Linked DNA regions of Homo sapiens: region 1 is linked to region 2. Evidence: promoter capture Hi-C in 16 types of primary human blood cells and fetal thymus (Javierre and others, 2016). All regions are on one chromosome and are shown on one strand. Each heading gives the region's core, a stretch centred on a gene start or on the middle of the fragment in contact. The rest is flanking DNA. Distances are from core to core; before and after follow the strand shown.

Region 1 (5,044 bases), core at 1,200-3,699, 180 kb before region 2:
TTATAAATACAAGGTTGGGAAAAAGATTTATCTTATGCATATCTATTAACTGGTAGTCCTGAAGTCTGGTTGTAAAGGAAGATATTTACTCCTAGGAATCATAGCGGTGCTTCAACTCAAACCACTGGAAATTATTCTCAGACATTATTATCTCCCTAAGATTCTTTTCTGTGATGTAAATTACTGTGCTTCACCTTCCTATGGCTGAACCCAAATAGTGTTTCACAAGAAGCTACTAATAGGGCCAGTGTGGACTTAAAACCACTTAGGACTCATAGAAGAAGCTCAAGTGGTTGGGAATGGGAAGATGAAAAAGATACAGAAAGGAGACAGGCTTTGTTTTCTCTAACATTTTGTCTATAGAGCTGTAGCTAATGAGAATCATAAGATGCATCTTAGCCTCAATGTTCTGAGAAATGTTGATGCCAGAGATTGTATTTCAACAGTTAAGATGCTTTAAGGAATACAACTTTTGTTGTTATTTACTTTGGATTAATGAGCTAATGTTAATTTTTATAGCTTTTCTAATTCCAGTAGAGTATAAGGGTAATTCCTTACAAAAAAAGACAAAAAACAAACTAACAAAAAATCCTGTATCAATAGGGTAAGTTGGCCAGGCGTGGTGGCACACGCTTGTAATCTCAGCACTTTGAGAGGCCGAGGCAGGCGGATTGTTTGAGGCCAGGAGTTCGAGACCAGCCTGGCCAATGTGGCAAAATGCCGTCTCCCCTAAAAATACAAAAAACAAGCAAAAAACAAATGAACAAACAAAAAAAACAAAAAAATTAGCCGGGTGTGGTGGTGCACACCTGTAGTCCCAGCTACCTGAGAGGCTGAGACAGGAGAATTGCTTGAACCCAGGAGGCAGAAGTTGCAGCGAGCCGAGATCGCACCACGGCACTCCAGCCTGGGTGACAGGGCAAGACTGCGTCTCAAAAAAAAAAAAAAAAAAAAAAATAGGAGTACGTTTACATTTTAGGTTCCTAAGCAAATTTTTAAAAGAGGCTAACTTTTAAGTCCAATTCCCCAGGAACATCTCAAAAGCTTCTCTTTTTTAAAAGACTCCATCCACCCCAACTCTGAACAGTGATACAGGAGCTATGGTTAAATTAGAGTTTATCTAAATTAAAAAGACCTAATTCATTTTATAAGACAACTTAACATTCATTATATTTATCTATAGTTATTGAGTAATTTGGGATCATAATAAATAATATCTAATACGAATAACATAAATGTCATAAAGGTGCTACTTACTGGAGTTCTGATAAAATGTATATTTTCCAATTTAATAAGATAAGGCATGAGAGACATCAGGATTTCCCATGTTAGAAGTTGTGAATTCATTTTTTAATTATGAGCATCTAATCTTAGATCTAACCCAATCTTAGATTTTATGTATCCGTGCACAGAAGAAATTCACATAAAAGTATATTGAAAAAATTTGAAAGACATTTCTTTTTTTCTTTTTTTTTGAGACAGAGTCTCACTCTGTTGCTTAGGCTAGAGTACAGTGGTGCTATCTCAACTCACTGCAACCTCCACCTCCTGAGTTCAAGCGATTCTCCTGCCTCAGACTCTCTGGAGTAGCTGCAATTATAGGTATGTGCTACCACGCCCGGCTAATTTATGGATTTTTAGTAGAGATGGGGTTTTGCCACGTTGGCCAGGCAGGTCTTGAACTCGTGGCCTCAAGTGTTCCGCCCACCTTGGCCTCCCAAAGTGCTGGGATTACAGGCATGAACGACCACTCCTGGCTTTCAACTACATTTTTTACAGGTATTAGTACAAATAAAGCTTATTTGGGCAAATAACTTACCACATACTTATTAGTCACGAAAATATCTTTGGTAAGTTGTGATTTCTTTAATTATTTTTGGTGTTTTGTTATGTGTTAAGGTCATCCTGTTGAATGGAGAAGAGAGGTGGGAGAATGGTTAGTGTGTGTGTGTACTTATGGTCAAATAAAAAGGTGCACATTAGCTTACTTACATATTTATACAAAAATATTTATTAGATACCAACTCTGTGCCAAACACAGATGCTGCACCATTAAATGGTTAGTTGGTTAGGGTTAGCAATTCATGTACTGGTCCTGAAACATTCAGAGTTGTCTCATTTACTTGAAGAAGTTAGAAAATACCAATTTTGGAATAGAAGAATCTCATGCTGACAGTGATAGTAGAGTTAGACAATACACATGAAAAGTTTTAAGGGCATGTCAAAAACTTAAGAGAATAATATTTTTCTTTTAAAATTGCCATACTCCCCAAACACATGGAGGAAAGTCTGTAAGATTGGATGGCAACTTGGCACATTTGAATGAATTGATCAGAAATGGAGAAAAATTCCTCAATAAGTTTCCCAAAGTAGAAGATTTGTGCACAGGAATTTGAAGAAATTAAGTGACACTGCTTAAGAACAGAAGGTAATGAAAATAAATACATCCCCTTGCACCAATTATGAAAATTAGAAAAAAAGAGGTCACATGGAGTGTCAAGTTGATGAGTTTATTTGGAAAGCAGGATTTGTGCTGGGAAGTGATAAGAATTAGTTAGTTGGAGGTGGATGGGTAAAGTGTTCTAAATGTTGGGCTTAATTTCGATTTAATAAGGAGGCCAATTCAGAGACTTAAAGAAATTTAGAGCAGGATAATCCCTTAGTTCTTCATCTTCCCTTCAGTCATAAGAAAACTAATTTTACTCAGATTACACAGCCTTGAGTGGCATTGCCAGTTGGGATCAGAACCCAACATTTTCTGTTTTCTGTGTTCTTTTCATATGCCCTGCTACTCTGCAAAACAATGCCCTATTGATCAGGAGTGGGGAGAGACACATGACTACAATGGTAATGAAGGAATACTTTGTTAGGAAATTTCTATTTTAAATACTGAAAAGAAATCAGTCTCTTTCCCATCCTTCTGCTTCTTACTTTATAGACTCTGATCTTCTAAAGGACAGTTGTGTCCCCAACTGTTTCATTGTCCAGCTTCTCCCTTGGTGAATGTGGGTCTGTAGCACCCTTTCTGCTATACAAAAGGAGCAGGGTCACTAACTAGTAGCACAGTCTGTGCCCCTTGTGCCCTAGGCCACTCTGTCACCCAAGCTTGGTTGCAGGACAACATACTTAGTGGCCTTTCAAAGATGGATGCTCCTGTAATCTGTTCCAAACCTCGGCTTAGTTATGCTGCTGCCCCTGCCACAATTTGGAATTCTCTCACATCATCACTCTGCAAATAATGGATGGAAGCTTTGGTGGAACTTATAGTTTCTGGTCTTTGATGGAATTTATGGTTCCTGTCCTGGAGCAGAAAGAAGAAAAAGCCAGAGAGTGTTATGCTTTTTAAAGAGAGTTCCATTTGTCTCTGGCAGCTACTTGAATATTCCTCAGAGTGTCTGTCAGCTGGAGGAAAAGTTAGCACTGATTTCGACATTTCCTTCTTCCCTCTCTAAGGATTTAAAAAATTTTCCTTTACAAGGTACGGCTTGAGAAACTAGCCCAGCCTCTCCCACAGGTGAATCTTATATTTCATATATAAGCCCTTCTGAATCTTATATTTTTAGGAAAGGGTGAGATATGGTCATCCTGTAGACTCTCCCTTAATACCAAGGAACCACATATGTCCTCTGGAATGGAGAGTGGGCGAATCCTCCCCTCCCCTCCAAGAGGGAAGCCAACTTCCTCAGTTCTTTGTAACCACACTTCTCACTGTCCCAGGTACATGACTTCTCAGTGGTTTTTGTCCCCAAGGCAGATAGCTACTCTCAGGGGTGTAAAGACTCTGGGCAGCTCTAATCTTCTGATTTTCATATGTATTAAATATCACAGTTTGAAAGCTTTAGAAACATTGATAAGGTTCATATTATTGTAGTTATCTTTGCCAAATAGACCTGAAGAGCTATCATGCCAGTGTCATCCAGCCTTGCTATTCCTCTGGCCTCCATAGACTTGGCTACAGTGGACTGAATGGTGGTCTCTAAAAAGATATGTCCATGACCTAACCTCTGGTACCTGTGAATTTGACTTTACTTGGAAAAAGGATCTTCGAAGATGCAATTAAAGTAAGGATCTCCAGGGGAGATCATCCTGGATGAACTGGGTGGATGCAAAATCCAATGACAAATGTCCTTATAAGAAGAGGGGAATACCAATGCCAACAGTAGAGAAGAAACATAGGGAAGATGTGAAAATGGATGCAGAGATTGGAGTTATGTAGCTATAAGCTAAAGACAATCAAGGATTGCCTGTGGCCATTAAAAGCTAGAAGAGGGCTGGGCATGGTGGCCCACGCCTGTAATCCCAGCACTTTGGGAGGCTGAGGCAGGCGGATCACCTGAGGTCAGGAGTCCAAGACGAGCCTGGCTAACATGGTGAAACCCCGTCTCTGCAAAAATGCAAAAATTAGCAGGGTGTGGTGGCATGTGCCTGTAATCCGTGCTACTTGGGAGGCTGAGGCAGGAGAATCGCTCGAACCCAGGAGGCAGAGGTTGCAGTGAGCAGAGATCGCGCCATTGCACTCCAGCCTGGGTGACAGAGTGAGACTCTGTCTCAAAAAAGAAAAAAAAAGCTAGAAGAGACAAAAGAGGGTTCTCCCCTGAGTCTTTACAGGAAGTGATACCCTGCCAACACTTTGACTTCAGACTTCTGGCTTCCAGAATTGTGAGAGAATAAATTCCTTCTGGTGTAGGTCACCAAATTTGTGGTAATTTTTAATGGCAACCCTAAAAAAACTAACCCACCAGCATATAAAAACATGGAGTATGATGATGGTAACTACTGTCCACTTCTTCTGCCCAGGTGTCAGCCAGCCTGGCCCTAAAGAGATGTGAAAACTAGATCTCACTTGAAACCTTGCAGCCACATCCTTCTCCCTGCATCTCTTGGTCTTCCCTCAAAATACAAACTTCTGCATTTAGTCTTTCCCAAACTTTAATCCCTAGAAGGTAAATACTGATTCTTGCTTCACCCATGCAAGAATTTCTACTTTCTTCCACACAGCATTGGTTATATAATTTGCTGGGCTCAATGAAAGATGAAAATGCAA
Region 2 (4,411 bases), core at 1,568-4,067:
TGATACGAAGGTCTCAATGATACAAACTAAGCTAAGGCTGTTTTGTGAAGCTTCTGCTCTTCTTTCATGTGATTTCCCTCACCCAGATATACACACTCACGATGACATATTTGTACACCTGGCACATGGAGACCTACAAATATATGCCCATGGTTGAGATATGCCTGTAGAGATGTTGGGGCACTGTAGTTTTTTGCTTCTTAGTGAGTATTAAGAAAAAAAAAAAGAAAGTGGAGTGAGTAGAAAGAAGGATGGTGTTTCTACCCACTAATTTTAATATACTGTACTTTTTAGGATTTCAAACATTTCTTAAGTTTCAAAATGTGTATGCCTTGTTTTATGCTTACTGAAAAACTATTTTGCAACCAGTTACTTCCAGTAAAGTATATTGAAATTGGAAAAAAAAAAAAAAGGAGTGAAAAGAGCTATTTTTATAATTTATCCTTTTCCTAGCTTTAAATGTTTGGACTAAAAACTCCTAAGTTGTTTTGTTAATCCTTACAGTCGTTTTCTCTCACCAGCTCACCAGTTTTTTCTGGCTCCATTTTCTCCCATATTCTAGAGGTTGTGAACTGAGAAACTCCAGGGACCATCTTGTCCTCCACTGGAATGCACTTTGGTTCTTGCAAGCTTTTGAATCATCCAAAAGCTGAAGCAGGACTTCGGCTGCCCTGGCAGGACTTGAAACTGTAACACAAAAGTACCTGAGACAGGTCTCAATCAATTTAGGAAGTTTATTTTGCCAAGGTTAAGGATGGGCCAGTGACACAGCCTCAGGAGGTCTTGACATGTGCCCAAGGTGGTCAGGATACAGCTTGCTTTTATACATTTTAGGGAGACATGATACAGCAATCAATACATGTAAGATTTTTACATTGGTTCGATCTAGACGGGCAGGACAACTTGAAGCTGGGCGGGGGGTGGGTGTTTCCAGATCACAGGAAGATTTAAACATGTCCTGATTGGCAATTGGTTGATTGAAAAAGTTATTATCAATAGAAAGGATGTCTGGGTTATGATAAGGGGTTGTTAGACCCAGATTTTGTCACACAGACGAAGCCTCCACGTAGCAGGCTTTAGAGAAAACAGATCTTAAATGTTTCTTATCAGACTTATGGTCTATGTTGATGTTAATTACGCATGTCCAACCCCCCCATCCCCTTTTTCATGGCCTGAACCAGTCTTTCAGGTTAAATTTTAGAGTGCCCTGACTGGGGAAAGAGTCCATACAGATGGTCGTCCATTCAGATGGTTGTGGGGGGCCTTCAAATTTTATTTTTGGTTTACAAAACAGAAAATGGAAGCACCTTGCTTCCCACTTCAAAGCCCGTTTCATGACACACACTCCCATTAAATTACATGGGATACAAAACAAAGCTTTCTATGCTGGGAAAGAAATACACTCTACAACATCTTTTTTGAGGTTAGTAATTATGGAAAGCATTTTCTTCTGCAAAGGAATTCCACGCCCTATAAATTTAAATTATTAGCTTGTCATCTCCAAGAGATCAGCATCCTCATAAACGGTGAGAGAAGGAACACAGAATACAGGATCCAGCACAGTTTCGGGATTCTGGCTTCTTTGCCAGACTTATCTTTGCTTACTTCTTTGTATAGACTTACTTCTTTGCCAGACTTATCTTTGCTTACTTCTTTGTATAGACTTACTTCTTTGCCAGAAGTATATTCAAAAAAGTTCCGTGGAAGCATCAAATCAACCACCTCTACTTATGATTTCCATGCATCTCTGGAATGCATAAAGCATGATTTCAGAACATGTTCTAATTCTAAGACCCTTCTCTTCCCGGCAGTTTAAAAAAAACAAAAAACAAAACGTCGTATCTTTGAGCATTGGTTTTCAAACATCACAATCACTTTAACATGACCTGAAATGCTTGTGAAAACACAAACTGCTGGGCTCCAGCAGGTTTCTGACTCAACAGGTCTAGGGTGGTGCCTGGGAATTTGCATTTCTAACTAGAGTTCCCAGGTGGTGCTAATGTTCCCAGTTCAGAGACTTCAATTCGAGATCCACTGCAGTATCCATAACTTTTGCTGATTTCCTTCAAATCATGATACTTCAGGGCTCTCTGCATCACCTCTACTGAGGAGCCCTACCCATTAAAGCTGGGGTAGGTTGGCCCAAGAATGGAACCGGGATCGTTGAGATTTCAGCACCCCAGCATTTTTTAGTGACTGAAATAATGAAAATTCTGATCAGGCTCCTGCTTGCTTGCACATTTTAACCACTCGCTTTTTGCCCAATATTCTCCTTGTTTCCACAATATAATTATAAACTGCTGAGGTACTGCTTCCTCGTCAAGAACAAAGAGGTTAACTTCAGGGTCACAAAAATGTTTGCAGAAGGGATGAATACCTCCAAGGGCTTTGCAACCAGCTGCGGATGCCTGGACGTCTAATTGCTCAAAGGTGTTATCTGAGACTGAAGAAACAGACTTTTCCCCTGGATTCTTTGAAAATCCCCCTCTCTTATTCTCTAGCAGAATAAAAACTCCCTGCTTTTTCCTTTTTACACACGGATTTGAGAGATCTTGTTCTCCCTCCTTCTGGCTTTTACTAAATTGAATGTCTTTCTCTATCCCCAAGCACCAGTATGTCAGTGTTTGACATCAACTGCACCACTGATACACGAGTCGGAATTTGAGCTTCTACAAGTACATTCCTTCCTAGGCCAAACACTGACGCTAAGAAATACGAGAACAGATCATCGCTAAACAGCAGCTGAAGGTCAGGCGAACTGACTCGCTGCGGAATCTGCCTTTGCACGTGATCAGTCGGACGTCTACACCCGCAGCCGTCTTCTGTCTCCGCCTCACCCTCAGGCCTGACGGTCCGAGTGGAGCTGCGGGACAGCCCGAACCTCCAGGTCAGCCCCGCGGCCCTCCATGGCGCTGGTGCGCGCACTCGTCTGCTGCCTGCTGACTGCCTGGCACTGCCGCTCCGGCCTCGGGCTGCCCGTGGCGCCCGCAGGCGGCAGGAATCCTCCTCCGGCGATAGGTGAGTTGTCCGCGACCCTTCTCTTCCCAGCCGGCAAAGAGCGCGGAGCGGCGGCGCCTGCGCACAGCAGGAGAAAGTGCGTGGGGGCAGCTGCCCCCGGCAGAGGCTCGGGCTAGCGGGGCCCCTGACGCGTCCGGCGTTGACCACGGCTGGTGGGCGCGGGGAGGGCGACCAAGGGACTACAGCGTTAGGGCGTCCAGCCGGGAGGCCGGGGCTGGGCGGGGGAAATGCCCTCGCCGGTGGGGGCGCTCCAAGGGCGCGTCGGCCGGATTTCGCCAGCCTGGCTTTTGTTTACATCCTGCATCTCAGTTGTTTTGTTCCTTGGGGAAGGAAGGAAAAGCTGCGGGACTCAAGGGAAGAGGAAGCTGGGAGTCCGATGTCCAGCACAGCAAGAGGCCCCTAATCGGTCCTGAATGGAGGGGGACTGCAGTTTCCCCACCAGCTCAGGGAAGTAAATTTCAGCGTGACTCACACTATCTTCTGTCTTGCTCGACCGAGATCAGTGGCTTTTTCTGCCACTCACCCAGCCAGAGCGCGAAAGCACCCTCGGGTAGACTCACCCCTTAGTCTACCGTGGAACTCACGGGGACTTCATTTCACCTGGATGTCCACTAGGTTTCCTGCGGGCGGGACCCATTTTATTCACTCCCAGCACTTAACACAGTGCCCGTTACAGTAGTGATTCTCTTAAGTGTGCCCTGGACCGGTGGCAGCAGCCGCCGCACTTAAAATTGTTAGCATTGCAAATTTCCAGCCCATCCCAGACCTACTGAATCTGAAACGCCGGCGTTGGGCTTCCACAGTATGCTGTTTAACCCACCCTCCGCATGATTCCTTTCGGCTAAGTTTGAGACTCACTGGTCCAGAATAGATACATTTTGGTGGGAGATTGTACAATGCCATCCGAGCCTCCAGTTCCAAAAATCAAGGTGCCCTCACCTCCTCAACTCCCTTTAAAAATAATTGCACTGTTAAGAGGAAAAACAAAATTAGAGAAGTGGGGTTCTGTTTTCTTTTAGGGGAGAGTTGTCCCTGAGACTCGGTAGCAGCACCTAGTGCTGAAACCTCTTTCGCTCCCTCTGTGCTTTCTCAGGACTTGGGAGCGCTCTAGGGCAAATATCTTCTCTTTGAAGGCCAAGTCCTCACGACTCAGCTGTCAGGTCTGAAGCAAAAACTGTAAATCTGGTTTCCGAACTGTGGCAAATGTCAGTCATTACAAGAAATTTCCCCAAAATGTTTATGTATACTGGTTTCTGCTTTTATTACGGCTTAGCTTGTGTTCCTTTAATTATGTGACCGGTTAGGGTTTTGAAATAAAATGTCTCACGTTGCTTGAGGCCACACAATGGCAAATTCACCTGTGTTTTAAAGAGGCCTGAATGAGCGCTTTCTG

Evidence for each region. Contacts are between HindIII fragments. The CHiCAGO score rates a contact against its expected background, and 5 or more counts as called.
Region 1: a fragment that was not itself captured here is called in contact with the fragment with the promoter of SMPDL3A in region 2 in 1 of 17 cell types (monocytes); the score reaches 7.7 in monocytes.

What each region holds. Positions count from the first base shown.
Region 1 is chr6:122,602,022-122,607,065 of GRCh38, forward strand. It overlaps a transcript of PKIB not described here. Among named protein-coding and RNA genes, the nearest start is that of PKIB, 5.9 kb to the right of the region's middle. The HindIII fragment of the contact is 1,308 bases long and covers 1,796-3,103 here.
Region 2 is chr6:122,786,441-122,790,851 of GRCh38, forward strand. SMPDL3A (sphingomyelin phosphodiesterase acid like 3A) reads left to right here and starts at 2,818. Exons shown (of 8, transcript NM_006714.5): 1 at 2,818-3,018. The coding sequence starts at 2,907. RefSeq lists enhancers at 2,628-3,129, 3,130-3,629 and silencers at 2,844-3,138, 4,244-4,411. The HindIII fragment of the contact is 3,428 bases long and covers 1,376-4,411 here.